Linked DNA regions of Homo sapiens: region 2 is linked to region 1. Evidence: promoter capture Hi-C in human tissues and cell types (Jung and others, 2019). All regions are on one chromosome and are shown on one strand. Each heading gives the region's core, a stretch centred on a gene start or on the middle of the fragment in contact. The rest is flanking DNA. Distances are from core to core; before and after follow the strand shown. Region 1 holds the start of ELN (elastin). Region 2 holds the start of CLIP2 (CAP-Gly domain containing linker protein 2).

The links. The method cuts DNA at HindIII sites, captures the fragments that hold promoters and counts their contacts. A contact is called where the count stands out against the background at its distance.
Region 2: a contact is called between the fragment with the promoter of CLIP2 here and the fragment with the promoter of ELN in region 1, in 1 of the 25 tissues and cell types used here (aorta).

Annotation. Positions count from the first base shown.
Region 1 is chr7:74,025,789-74,031,594 of GRCh38, reverse strand. ELN (elastin) reads right to left here and starts at 3,422. Exons shown (of 33, transcript NM_000501.4): 1 at 3,326-3,422. The coding sequence starts at 3,407. RefSeq lists enhancers at 2,095-3,066, 4,039-5,011. The HindIII fragment of the contact is 22,090 bases long and covers 1-5,806 here.
Region 2 is chr7:74,284,916-74,291,202 of GRCh38, reverse strand. CLIP2 (CAP-Gly domain containing linker protein 2) reads right to left here and starts at 1,796. Exons shown (of 17, transcript NM_003388.5): 1 at 1,469-1,796. It overlaps LOC107986742 (a long non-coding RNA gene), which reads left to right and starts at 1,896. Exons shown (of 2, transcript XR_001745024.2): 1 at 1,896-2,141. RefSeq lists enhancers at 154-797, 798-1,442, 6,180-6,287 and silencers at 1,318-1,387, 1,408-1,877. The HindIII fragment of the contact is 6,317 bases long and covers 1-4,669 here.

The sequences.
Region 1 (5,806 bases), core at 2,173-4,672:
CTGCTGGGAAGCCTTCCTGGATTTCTCAAGGCTCCTTCTGGCCACCCCCAACCGAGTCCTGTCTGCTTCTTTCATCATTGCACATCTATTTACACATTAGCTGCCCCTCCACTAGACAAAACATGGTGTAAGTAGTGAGAGGGAGTATTAAACCTTAGCAATGTGCACTAATTACAAGGATCCATGAGCCCAAATTAGCAGACTCTGAATAAGAGAATAGATTATTTTAAAAATGCCCATTCCCACGGTCCTTTTATTTGATGCTTTTTTTCCCCCCAGATATTACATTGCTAGAAGCTCTCACTGGCCCTAGGAGGTACTTCAGGCAGGGCTGTTTCTCCCCATTTTGCAGCCAGGGAAATGGAGAACCAGTGAGCTGAAGAGCCTGGTCTGGGACCCCCAGCTGACCCCAAGTCACATGTAGGGCCATTTGCCTGGGCCCTGGGCTCCAGGTTCAAAGAGCTGGAAGCAGCCTGTTTGGGAGCGAGCCTGGGGCCAGCCGATCTTGGCAGGGGGCTTTGCCAAACCAAAGTCCAGGGGGCTGGCTTGGGGAGCAGATAAGACCACACGAAGCTGTTTGTTGTTTGCATGCAGAAGGCTGCCAAGGGTTTTCAAAAACAAGCTGTCCTCCACTGGGTGACTGTGTCCCCTCCCACACAGGGCACATTTGCCCTCATGCCGGGGCCTCGGCAGACACACAGAGCGGGATCGACCTCTAAACCAGTGCTTCTTGGCCCTGGCGACCCCACCGTCACCTGGGAAGCCTGAAAAGTCTGTGTCCAGGTCCCTCTCCAACCAAAGCAAGCAGGGATTCTTGGGTGGGAAGTCTAATAGATAGCCAGGTTGAAAACCCCTGTTCCTACTTAAGGACGGAAAACAATAATTAAAAAAATATTTAAAAAGAGGCAGTGGCTCATGCCTGTAATCCAAGCACTTTGGGAGGCGGAGGTGGGAGGATCACTTGAGCCCAGGAATTCAGACCAGCCTGGACAACACAGCGAGACCCTGTCTCAATTTAAAAAAAATAAAAAAGGTAAAAAAATAAAAATAAAAAAGGAAAATAAAAGAAAAGGAAACCTCTGTTCCAAACCATCTTCAGTTCTGAAATCAGGAAAAAAAAAAAAAAAAATCCCTGATACTATTTCTGGGGGATGGGGAAGAATTATCCCTGGGTTAATTTCTCATGCTCACTTTTGAAACAGCCTGGGAGCTGTGCGGCTTGTCCCCTCCTCCTGCTCCCCCACCCCCGCAACAGGGTTCCTTCCTTGGAGCCGCTGAACTTGCATAAGTGACACCCTCCTCCTTGAGGGAGAAGCCAGGCTCCCCCAGGACAGCCAGGTGAGTGGCAGTGAGCATGTGACTGAGCGCTCCACTCCCTGTGTTGGCTCCCCGACCTCTGCAGACTTCAGTAGCACTTCTGTGCAAAACCCCACACGAGCTCATCAGTTCACACACCCCTTATTTGGACCTAGCAAGTCCAGCCACCTGGGACAGAGCTGAGATTGATCTCTGCAAAGTGTGAGGCCAGCTGGGCGTTTAGCGGTGTCACTGAGGACACAAGGAGAGAGCTGATTCTGCCTAGGGCATGCCTGCTTTAAGGACTCAGCCCCAAGCCTTCCCCTCCCCAAATGTTGCCTGCTAGCTCACTCCTAACCCCCTTGCCCCTTGACCTGGGGCAGAGAGCTGGCTGATACTAACCCCCGGGGACTGCCTTAGCCTGCCGGAGCCTCAGCTTCCTTGTTTGTCAAGTGATGATAATAATTTCTAATTCTCAAGGTTCCTTGATGATGAACTGCCACCCTATAGGTGGTGGCCCCATCTGGGAAGAAGGGTGGCTGGGTGTTTGGGGGCTACACCTGGGGAGGAGGCTGAGACGGACCCGGGGCTGCTGCTTTCAGGCCCTGGCTCGTTGCCCCTGCTGGGGCCCGCCTGTGGGTACCCATGTCCCTTGGCCTCATCCAGGTCCAGCAGCGGACCCTGCACAGGAAGCTGTTCAATCTCACGGAAACAGCTGCAGCTCCTGCCCAGGCCCTTGACTCCACCCCGTGGCCCTCCCGCCCCCCACTCAGCGTTTGGTTCTCATGGCAAGGAGGACTCCCGAGGAAACCAGACTCCACCCAGACCCCCCTACCAAATGCCCTCCTTTTTCCCATGCCCGGGAGCCTCTTCTGTCCTCCCCCGTTGGCCGCGGCATAGCAGCCCCACAGGGCACACCCTCAAACCCCATAACCAACTGTGCCTGGGTTGGGGCACATAGCAGATGGCCCAGCAGTGCCCCAGGATCCACTCCAGCCTCTGTCTCAGCCACACTGCCTCTGCCAGGAGACAGACACCTTCTCCAGCCCGCCTTTCCATGCTTGCGTGCCACATCGCACACACATTCACACACACAGATGTACACACTCCATAACACACACAGTGACAGTCCACACCAGTGTCACACCTGGATGCCAGATCGCCCATGTCTACATGTGTACATGTCTACATGTCTGTCAGGTGGCAGACTTTTGCACACACTAAGGAGCAGCTTCATATACCTCCTCCAAACATACGCATACACCTGCCTAAGGATGAACCTGTGAGCAGACATATGTACCCCTCCAGAAATCCCTTTCCCTGTTCAGTGACACAGCCGGGCATCTGAACACATGCACACCTGTGCATGCACACATACACACACGAGCACACAGCACGCTCATTCCTGTGTGCATGCACACACACACACACACACAAATGCATACCAGGAGTCCCTGCCTGCCTCAGCAGGGAGAACACAGCAGCAGCTTCCCAACCTGCAAACCCATCCTCAGCGGAGCCCTGACCTTCCTGACGGGGGGATCCCGGCTTCCCAGGGGTCAAGGAACCTGCTGAGGTCACACAGCTCACTGCGGTTGAGCTGGTATCAAGCCCAGGTTCCCTGTCCCCAGGGCTGGTGTGCACCCCAGCTGTGTCCACAGGTGTGCAGACTGTGGTGTCTCCAGACCCAGGGGTTCCCGCTGGGCCCTCCCCCAGGATGCTCTGATCCCCCTACAGGGCGGGCACCCGGGCACCTGAGCAGGGGCCCCCTCAGCCCTCGCAGGGCAGCAAAGCCTGGATGCTGGGCTGGGACTATTCTGAGTCGAGGGTGTCTCTTTGACAGGTTCCTCCTGGGCACGGGGCTGGCTCCTGGGAGGGGCAGTTCCGAGGACCCAGTGGCTGAGGGGCTCCCACCTGGGACCCCTTGCAGTTCCCAGGGACGAAGGTCTCCCCCTTGAGCGTCTAGTCACCTGGCCCAAAGGGCCCGCAGCTGTGGGCAGCGCTGGGGACAGGGGCGAGGGGTCCTTACCTCCAGGCCGAGAGGGGTGGAGGATGGACAGCAGGAGCAGGAGGACTCCGGGCCGCGGGGCCGCCGCCGTCAGACCCGCCATCTCGGGGAGAAATGCCCCAGCCCGCTCTCCGCACCTCGTTTTATCCCCAAAGCCTAATTGTTGCCTCGTCGGCTGTGAGGGAAAGAGGGAGGGAGAGAGGGCGGGCGGGAGGGCGGGAGAGGGGGGAGGCCTGGGGGAGGGGGCCGCGGGGAGGGGACAATTACGAAAGGCCCGGCTCACAAGCCTCCCAGGCCCGGGCTGCTGGACTGCGAGCTTTTTTCCTTGACACACACACGCACACACATGCACACAAGCACACACTCACACACACACACTTTCCCCCATCTCTTTCCCGCTTTCCCTCTGCGACTGTTCTTTCGCTGCTGGCCCTGTTCCCGCCAGAAAGAGCGAGGGGGGCCTCTGCCAGGACAGCCCTCGGGAGAGGAAGCAGAAGGGAGGGCCTGGCGGCCAGGCCAAAAATCCCAGCCCCAGCCAAGGCCCGAGTGGCCAGGCCCCCGCCCCTCCGGCTGGGCCCCGGGCCCAGTGTGAGGATACGGGCCAGCTGTCCCGCGCCTCAGCCCCCACCCCGGCCCTCCAGACTCCCCAACACCCCCAGGTCTGGCTAGAGACAGGTTCTGCCCAAAGCTGGGGAGGGGAGGCATTGGGCAGGTCTGGGGGTTTGGGGGGTGCGATGTCTACAGAGGCCGGGGGGCTGCAGGTTGAATGGCCTGGAAGGTAGGCCCGGGTTGGTATTGCTCTGGGAGGGATCTGGGGGGAAGGTAGGGGACCCTGGACAGGGCTGCATTCTGCAGGGGCCAAGGTCTCTGCCTAGCGCCTGAAGCTGGGGAGGAGGTGTTGGGTGGGTCTGGGGTGGATGCCTGCAGATGCCAGGGGGTTAGAGGCAGGGGAATGGCTTGGGAGTTAAGGCCATGTTGGTGCTGTCCCCAGGGGCATCTGGAGCACATGGAGGATCCCGACACACAGGGTTCTATTCTGCATGGGTCAAGGTCACAGCCCTATACCCAGCCCCATGCAGGCCGCAGGGTCTGGTAAAAATCAGGCTGGATCCCCAGGTGCCCTGTGGGGGAACAGGGAGGTGGGAGCCCCCCGCAGACTGACAGGCAGCCCAGCTTCCCATTATCACTGGGTCACCTCCCATCCCCACGCTGAGCACAGCTAGCGCCCACACCAGTCTGGGAGCTTCTCGACTGCTGTTCTCCCGGCCCCTCTGGGAAGGCTGACATTCCGCTGGTGGCCAGGAGGGGGCGGCCTGCACTGAAACAGCTGGGACCACGTTCCTGGAGAACTCTGCATTTCTGCCCCCAGGACTGAGCTGGACGGGGACCCTGGGGGATTTTGGGGGTTGGAGTGTGGGATGGAACAGGGGAGGGTCGTGTCCCCCACCCCTCACTTCCCACTACTGCTAGAGGAGAAGAAATGTGAGACCTAGAGAATAGGAGAGGGAAACTTGTTCCTTGTCCTAGGTCACAGCCAGTCAGGGAACAGCATGGAAGCCACACGCCCTGTGGGCTTTTCCCTGCACCACGATGGCTCCGAGGGATGAGTTAAAGACCCCTTGTGGAGGCAGGAGCACTGTGGCAGTCTGGAGTGCCAGCAGGGGTGGCTCAGCGTGGAAAGGTCAAATGCAGGCATTGGTCAAAGGCAGGTATTGGTGGACCTAGAAGTAAATTTCTGGCTCTAGCCTTTCTGGTAGGAAAACCTCTCCACAGAGCATCAGTTTCCTTATCTGTCTACAGGTGATCAGTATTCCTAGCTAAGAGATTATTGCAAAGACAAATACAACGTGGTCTTGTATTTCTGCTAGATCAAAAATGCTCTGTGTTCAGCTGGTGCTAGGACTGGTGTCAATACCACAGTTGCCGTCACTCGCTCTGCAAGTACTCTGCTTCTAGGACAGCTATCAGGCTTTGGTCTATACGGGGCCACCCCAGGACCCTGGACAAACCCTTCCTTTTCCCTGGGTCTTTGGAGGGAGCAGCTCTGGAATTTTGGAAGGTAGGGGCATGCTGGGAGAATTGTCTTGAAGATGTACGCACACAGCCAGTGTACAGCTCTTACTTACGGTGTGTGTTTATTTGGGGGTGCTTTGAGGGTAGCTGATGGAGATTATGCTGGGGTGAAAGCCCCCCCAAGCCACCCTTTGTTGGTGGGGTTAGGGGCTGCTCAGGGGCAGGGTCTGAAGCTCGATGCCCAGGATGTGCCTGCTGCAGGGGAGGGGAAGTCAATGGTATATCTGCGTGCCTCCGCCTGCCTGGGAAGGAGGAAGGCAGGGGCTACTGTGGGGAGCTGGACCCCTCTCTTCTCGAGGCAGTGACACGGGCAGGAACCAGCTTTCAGACTTGCAAACCGCAGTCTGCACAGAGTCTTTATTAATTCCAGGACGGGGAGAGAGTCCGGAGCCAGGGGGAGAGAGTTTGCAGTGGGGGGATCCAGGAGGG
Region 2 (6,287 bases), core at 547-3,046, 260 kb before region 1:
TCTCCATCTCCACCGCCTCCACCTGTCCTGAAGCCAGAATCCCATCATTCCCCCGCAAGGCACTGCAGACAAGAATGCATCCTGTGCTCAACGCAGGTCTAAGTTCCTTAAATCCTAAGCTGTTTCTCTAACCCAATAGCCTCCTTTTCTGACTCCAAGCCCTTATTCACGCTATTTCTCCTGCACGAAACCCCCTTCAGGCAACCTGGCAGCAAACTTCTGCAAGATGCTCTATGAAGCTTCCTGGTCTGCCCCATCCTCCAGGGGACCCCCTCTATGCCCCCAGCTTCCCCACTAATGCACTCATCAACCCCCGGGGCTGCACTTTTTGGGGACACCGAGGCTGCTGTCCTGTGGACCAGCCAGCCCCTAGAAGTGCCAGGCCAGGTAACAGCAGCTGAATGAAGGGCTTATTGTTTACATTTACAACCGAAAGGGAAGAGGCTTCTGAAGCACACACGTGGTGCTCCCCGCACCCTCCTCCTCCTCTGCCCACAGCCCTAGGCCACCCCACCCACCTCCCTCAGGCATCGCGCAAGAGTGACGGCAGACCCCCTCATCCCAGACCCCCACTTCTCACCCAGAAGTGAGAGGAGGGGTCTCAGACGTTGGGGGACACACTGCTGGGTGGGTGATTTCCCCCCAAGGTGCTCCCTCTGCCCGTCCTTCCCAGGGTGGGGCTGGGGCCTGCGTGGCAGTGCCCAGTGGGCACCCGCTCGGCCCAAGCTCTGCCTGAAAGGTCCAAACGGGCGGGCCCTGAAGGTTCAGCCAAGCATCCTCCGCGGCCGCCGCCCCTCCCCGGGAGGAGGGCAGAAAATCTGCTGCCTCACCAGCCACCAGCGCCAGCTTGGGGGGACACCCCCTGAGAGAAGCCGCCCGCCTCAATCTCCTCCTACCCCACCTCAGCCAAGCACTTCAACCAAGTTTTGCAAAGGCCATCGGCCAGGCGACCCCAGAGGGTGTAGCAGGGAGGAGAGGGGGGCAGTCCCTGTTCTCCCAGACCCCAGGTTTGGAGATGGGGGCTGCATGGCCGCGCCCACCAGGCTGTGCTCCCCAGGCTCTGTGAGCCCAGAGAGCCCTGCGGCGCGTCCAGCCGTCTTGCTCTGCCCTTGGAAGGGGGTACGGGCGACCCTCCAACAGAAGGGCCAAACCCCCGTCCGAGGGTAGGGACCCCGATGAGGCTGGTGATGCCTTCAACAGGGGGACCCGCAGCCCGGGAATAGCCCCCAACCCTGGCACCCCAAGCAGTGCCCCCTCCTCTCCTACAAGCAACGGGGAAGTTGGGGCACACCCCAGCCAGCTCCCGCCCACGCCCACCGGCCGGCCTCGAACCCTCCCGCCCCCGCCCACGCCCCGACAATGCCTCCGGGCCCGCAGCCCCGCTTTCGGCCAGGCCGCCGCCCCCCGCATCTCTCCGTCCTTTGTTGCCCGCGCGACCCCCTCCCTCGGCCCCTCCAGCAGCCCCTACCTTCGTCCTTCCAGCATCAGGCTAAGCGGCGGGAGGCCCGGAGAGCCCCGGCCTCCTCCTCTCGGGCCCGGGCGCGCTGGGGGGCGAGGATGCTGCGGCCCCTCCCTGCGCGGCGCTGCCCACCGGCTGCACCCCCTCCTGGCGCCGGGGATCCCCGCGATAGGTGCTCAGGGCCCGGGCCTCGCGCCACGTCTCTGGGAAGGCGGGAGGCGCGCACCGAGGCCGCCCAGCAGCCGCCTGCGCGCCCCGCGGCCGAGCCGAGCTGAGCGCCCGCGGAGCCAGCGGAGCCAGCGGAGCCAGCGGCCCGGCTCCGGGAGGGAACAAAAGGGGCCGGCGCAGGGGCGGGCGCGGGAGGGCGGGGCCTGGGGCGGGCGGGAGGGGGGGGCGGGTCAGGCGCGCGTGGGCGGCCTCGCGGTTTTCAGGCCTCAGTGCCTCGCGGAAAGCAGGCGGGCGGGCGGAAAACGCGGAGCAACCTCTTCCCCCTCTCCCCGCTCCATCTCCTTCCCTTCCCAGGCCGCAGCTGTCCTTTGTGGGGCGTCCAGGGTTCGCCCACATCCACCTCCGCGCTGGGCACCTGGTGGTGCTTACATCGCGTTTGGTGAAACGCATCCTCCAGCCATGCTATGCTTGCAAAGATGTCTCTGGTCATTGGGAAGGACGGCAGCTTGGGAAGGTGAGATGCTGTTGGCGCTGGACAGAAAGGATGAGGAGGGGGACAGTGCAGCTGGGGCGAAAACTTCAGGTCTGTGTTGGGGCCAGCGTGGGTGGGGAACTGTGGCACAGGGTCTCATGGTTATCAAGGATCTCATAGCCTGGGCAGTGTCTCACGCCTGTAATCCCAGCACTTCAGGAAGCCAAGGCGTGCAGATCGCCTGAGGCCAAGAGTCCGAGAACAACCTGGGCAACGTAACCTTCGTCTCTACAAAAAATACAAAAATTAGCTGGGCGCGCGCCTGCGGTCCCAGCTACTGGGGAGGCTGGGGTGGGAGGATCGCTGGAGCCCAGGAGGTCGAGGCTGCAGTGAGTCATGATCAAGCCACGGCCCTTCAGCCTGGGTGACAGAGCGAGACTCCGTCCCAAAAGAAAAAAAAAAAAGGATCTCATGGTGATCAGCTTCCAAGATACAAATGAACCCTCCCCAGGACAGGATGCATGTACTGCTATTTCAGAGGAGTTGAGGCAGCTGCCAGGTCCCCTCCTGCGTGGAGAGGCAGATGCCAAGTGACAGCTCAGGAACTAAACAGTGACCAAGCCCCAGCCCCTGTCCATGCCCAGGCTGCGGTTGGCTTCTGTGGCTTGGTTTCCCTCTGTCCCCCCTTGATAAGCTCGCCTGGATGCCTTTGACCTAGCTGGCCGTTCTACCAGTCCTGCCCTGCCCCCTTTCTCTGTTTGACAAATCATATTCCCCCTTCAAAGCACAGCTTAAATGTCCCTGCTTTTCCCTTGAGTGCAGGAATGTGGGTGTTGGGGGAGGTTGTGGTCTGTATGGTGAGACCACTGTTCTGCGGGAGAGAAGTGCCACATACGATCTTGTTCCTATCCCCTAAGGGACCCAGTGCAATGCTTGGCAGAGGGTAGACATCCAGTAATATTTGTTGAATGAATGAATGAACTTACTAAGTTAACATTACCACCCCTCAACTGTCTTGGTATCCATAATCTTTGAGAAGTGAGTGAACCTTTTTTTAGAGAAGGGGTCTCACTCTGTCACCCAGGCTGGAGTGCAGTGGTGTGATTACAGCTCACTGCAGCCTCAAACTCCCAGGCTCAAATGATCCTCCTGCCTCAGCCTCCAGAGTAGCTGGGACTACGGGCATGCACCATGCCCGGCTAATTTTTTGTGTTTTTTATAGAGATGGGGTCTCATTATGTTGGGGTCCAGGCTGGTCTTAAACTCTTGGCTTCAGATGATCTTCCCACCTCAGCCTCCCAAAGTGCTGGGATTACAGCTGTGAGCCACCGTGCCTGGCCTAAACATTTTGACCTCAGTTTCCCCATCTGTAAATTGGGGAGAGTGTTTCAATTCAGTTCAGCGAACATGCAATGCTGTAATGATGGAGGCTGGGCATGGGGTCAGCCCTGAGGGGGTGCCCAGTTGGTGTGGAGAGCCAGACTTGGAGACTAATAAGGGAGGAGGTTCAGAGTGAACTCCAGAAAGACTGGGCTTCTGTAGGAGGTGTGAACCCATAGGGAGGGAGGGGACTCAGGGTGGAGAGGGCAGTGTTCAGGAAACAGGGAGCTAATTGTTCCTTGTGGCTGGGATGCATAACCTGTATATCAACAGTTATAAACCAGCCAGGCACAGTGGCTCACACCTGTAATCCCAGCACTTTAGGAGGTGGTGGCGGGCAGATAACCTGAGGTCAGGAGTGCGAGACCAGCCTGGCCAACGTGATGAAACCCCATCTCTACAGAAGATGCAAAAAATAGCTGGGTGTGGTGGTACATGCCTGTAATCCCAGCTACTCGGGAGGGTGAAGCTTGAGAATGGCTTGAACCCAGAAGGCGAAGGTTGCAGTGAGTGGAGATCATACCACTACACTCCAGCCTGGGCAACAGAAGGGATGGGATGGGATGGGACGGGACGGGACGGGATGGGGCAGGGATTTGCCAAGGTGACATGGGTCTTGCTGGGATGTACCTGAGCTCACCAGCCCCTGCCCAGCAGATCTAGCCTCCCACATGTGCCTCAGGAGGTAGGCAGGGGCCCCCAACCTTCACAGGTACTGCCTCCCTCACTGATGGCCCCCAGTATTATTCAGAGCAACAGCCTGCGGTCAACAGACCTTACCTGGCCGCTGGTGAGTGGAGCTTCAAAGAGCAAGTCACCTGAGAGGGACACCTTTTGTTCTTGCTCCAGATGAGAGAAGACAGGCTTCTGTCTTGTTACAGTTTGCATTTGGGGGGCCGGGCACAGTGGCTCACACCTGTAATCCCAGCACTTTGGGAGGCCAAGGCGGGCGGATCACAAGGTCAGGAGTTCGAGACCAGCCTGGCCAACATGGTGAAACTCCGTCTCTACTTAAAATACAAAAAATTAGCCGGGCATGGTGGCACACACCTGTAATCCCAACTACTTGGGAGGCTGAGGCAGGAGAATCACTTGAACCCGGGAGGCGGAGGTTGCAGTGAGCTGAGATCGCACCATTGCACTCCAGCCTGGGCAACAAGAGCAAGACTTTGTCTCAAAAAAAAAAAAAAAAAAAAGTTTGCGTTCGAGTTTTTCTGCTTCTTTCAGTAGATGAACCTGATGCTGTCTGATGTGAGGGTTGGGGTCCTGGCCTTGGCCCCTGCCCTGGCATCAGGCCTCCGTGATGGGTGGGGAGGCAGGCGGGGGGATCTGGAGGGGGTGTTCTCCCAGCCGACCTCTCACCCAGGCCTTTTGTCTCCACTGAAACTGCTGATTTGGTCATTTTCTTGCTGACGCCGGCTGTGACCAGCAGCCTCACGGGAGGATTTTTCATGGGAAGAGAGAGTTGGGAATAATTTTCGAGCCAGAGCTGAATTCTCTGAGGCCTGCAATGGGCCAGCCACGGGAGAGGCCTGGGCTGCTTTGCAGGTGGCGATCTCTCTGGTATACTATTTATTTATTTATTTATTTGTTTATTTATTATTTTACTTTTTCAGGGGTAGAGACAGAGGCTTTCTATGTTGCCCAGGCTGGTCTCGAAATCCTGGCCTCAAGTGATCCTCCCACCTCGGCCTCCCAAAGCGCTGGGATTACAGGCTCTGGGCACCACGCCTGGCCTATTTTTATTTTTTTATTTTTCATTTTAGAATCCATAGGACAGCTACAGGATGGGATATGTTTGCAGTGTCTGAACTGCTGTTTACAAGGCATTTGTTATAATGTGGGGAAACAGTTACGTATTTACACCCACCAGGAAAATACACTTCATGAAACTGCGGATATGGAGCCAAGCTTAGTGCCTCATGCCTGTCATCCCAGCGAGTGGGGAGACTGAGGTGGGAGGATCACTTGAGCCCACGAGTTGGAGGCTATAGTGAGTTATGATCATACCATTGCACTCCAGCCTGGGCAACAGAGCAAGATCCCATTTTATTTTATTTTATTTTTAAAATTGTGGGCCAGTTGTGGTGGCTCATGCCTGTAATCCCAGCACTTTGGGAGGCCAAGGCAGGAGGATTGCCTGAGCCCCAGAGTTGGAGACCAGCCTGGGCAACATGATGAAACCCTGTCTCTACTAAAAACACAAAAAGCTAGCCAGGCATGGTGGCACATGCCCGTAATCCCAGCTACTCAGGAGGCTGATGCAGGAGAATCGCTTGAACCCGGGAGGCGGAGGTTGTAGTGAGCCAAGATCGTACCACTACAGTCCAGCCTCGGTGAAAAAGTGAGACCTTGTCTCAAAAAAACTGGTAACTGTGGTGGGCTTTGGGTGGGGGGAATCCGTGGGACTTTTTTCTTCCCTTTTCTGAATTTTTCTGCAACAGGCATGTGCTGCTTTGGGGACTAATAAAAGAAACTTAAACCCAAACCGCTTCTGCTGAAATGATTGGATGTTGCTGTGACCTTTCTGCCTAGCAGAGCAGAGGCTGCACAGGGTGGCAGGTGGCACAGGCTGGGAATTGCATCACCACGGAGATACCAGCTAAGGCTATCACGCCGGTGGCCACACCCTTACTTTCAACTGCATGGACTTTGCCTTTATCCAGTTCTCCCCACCTTGGGGTATATCGGTCTTGGAGGAAGCTCCGGTACTTCCCTCTGGCTTGGTACAGTGCTAGTGGAAACAGCCCAGTGGTAAAGGAAGGCCATAGTAGCTCTCTGCTGCCAGGTGATAGGGGGACTTCCCCT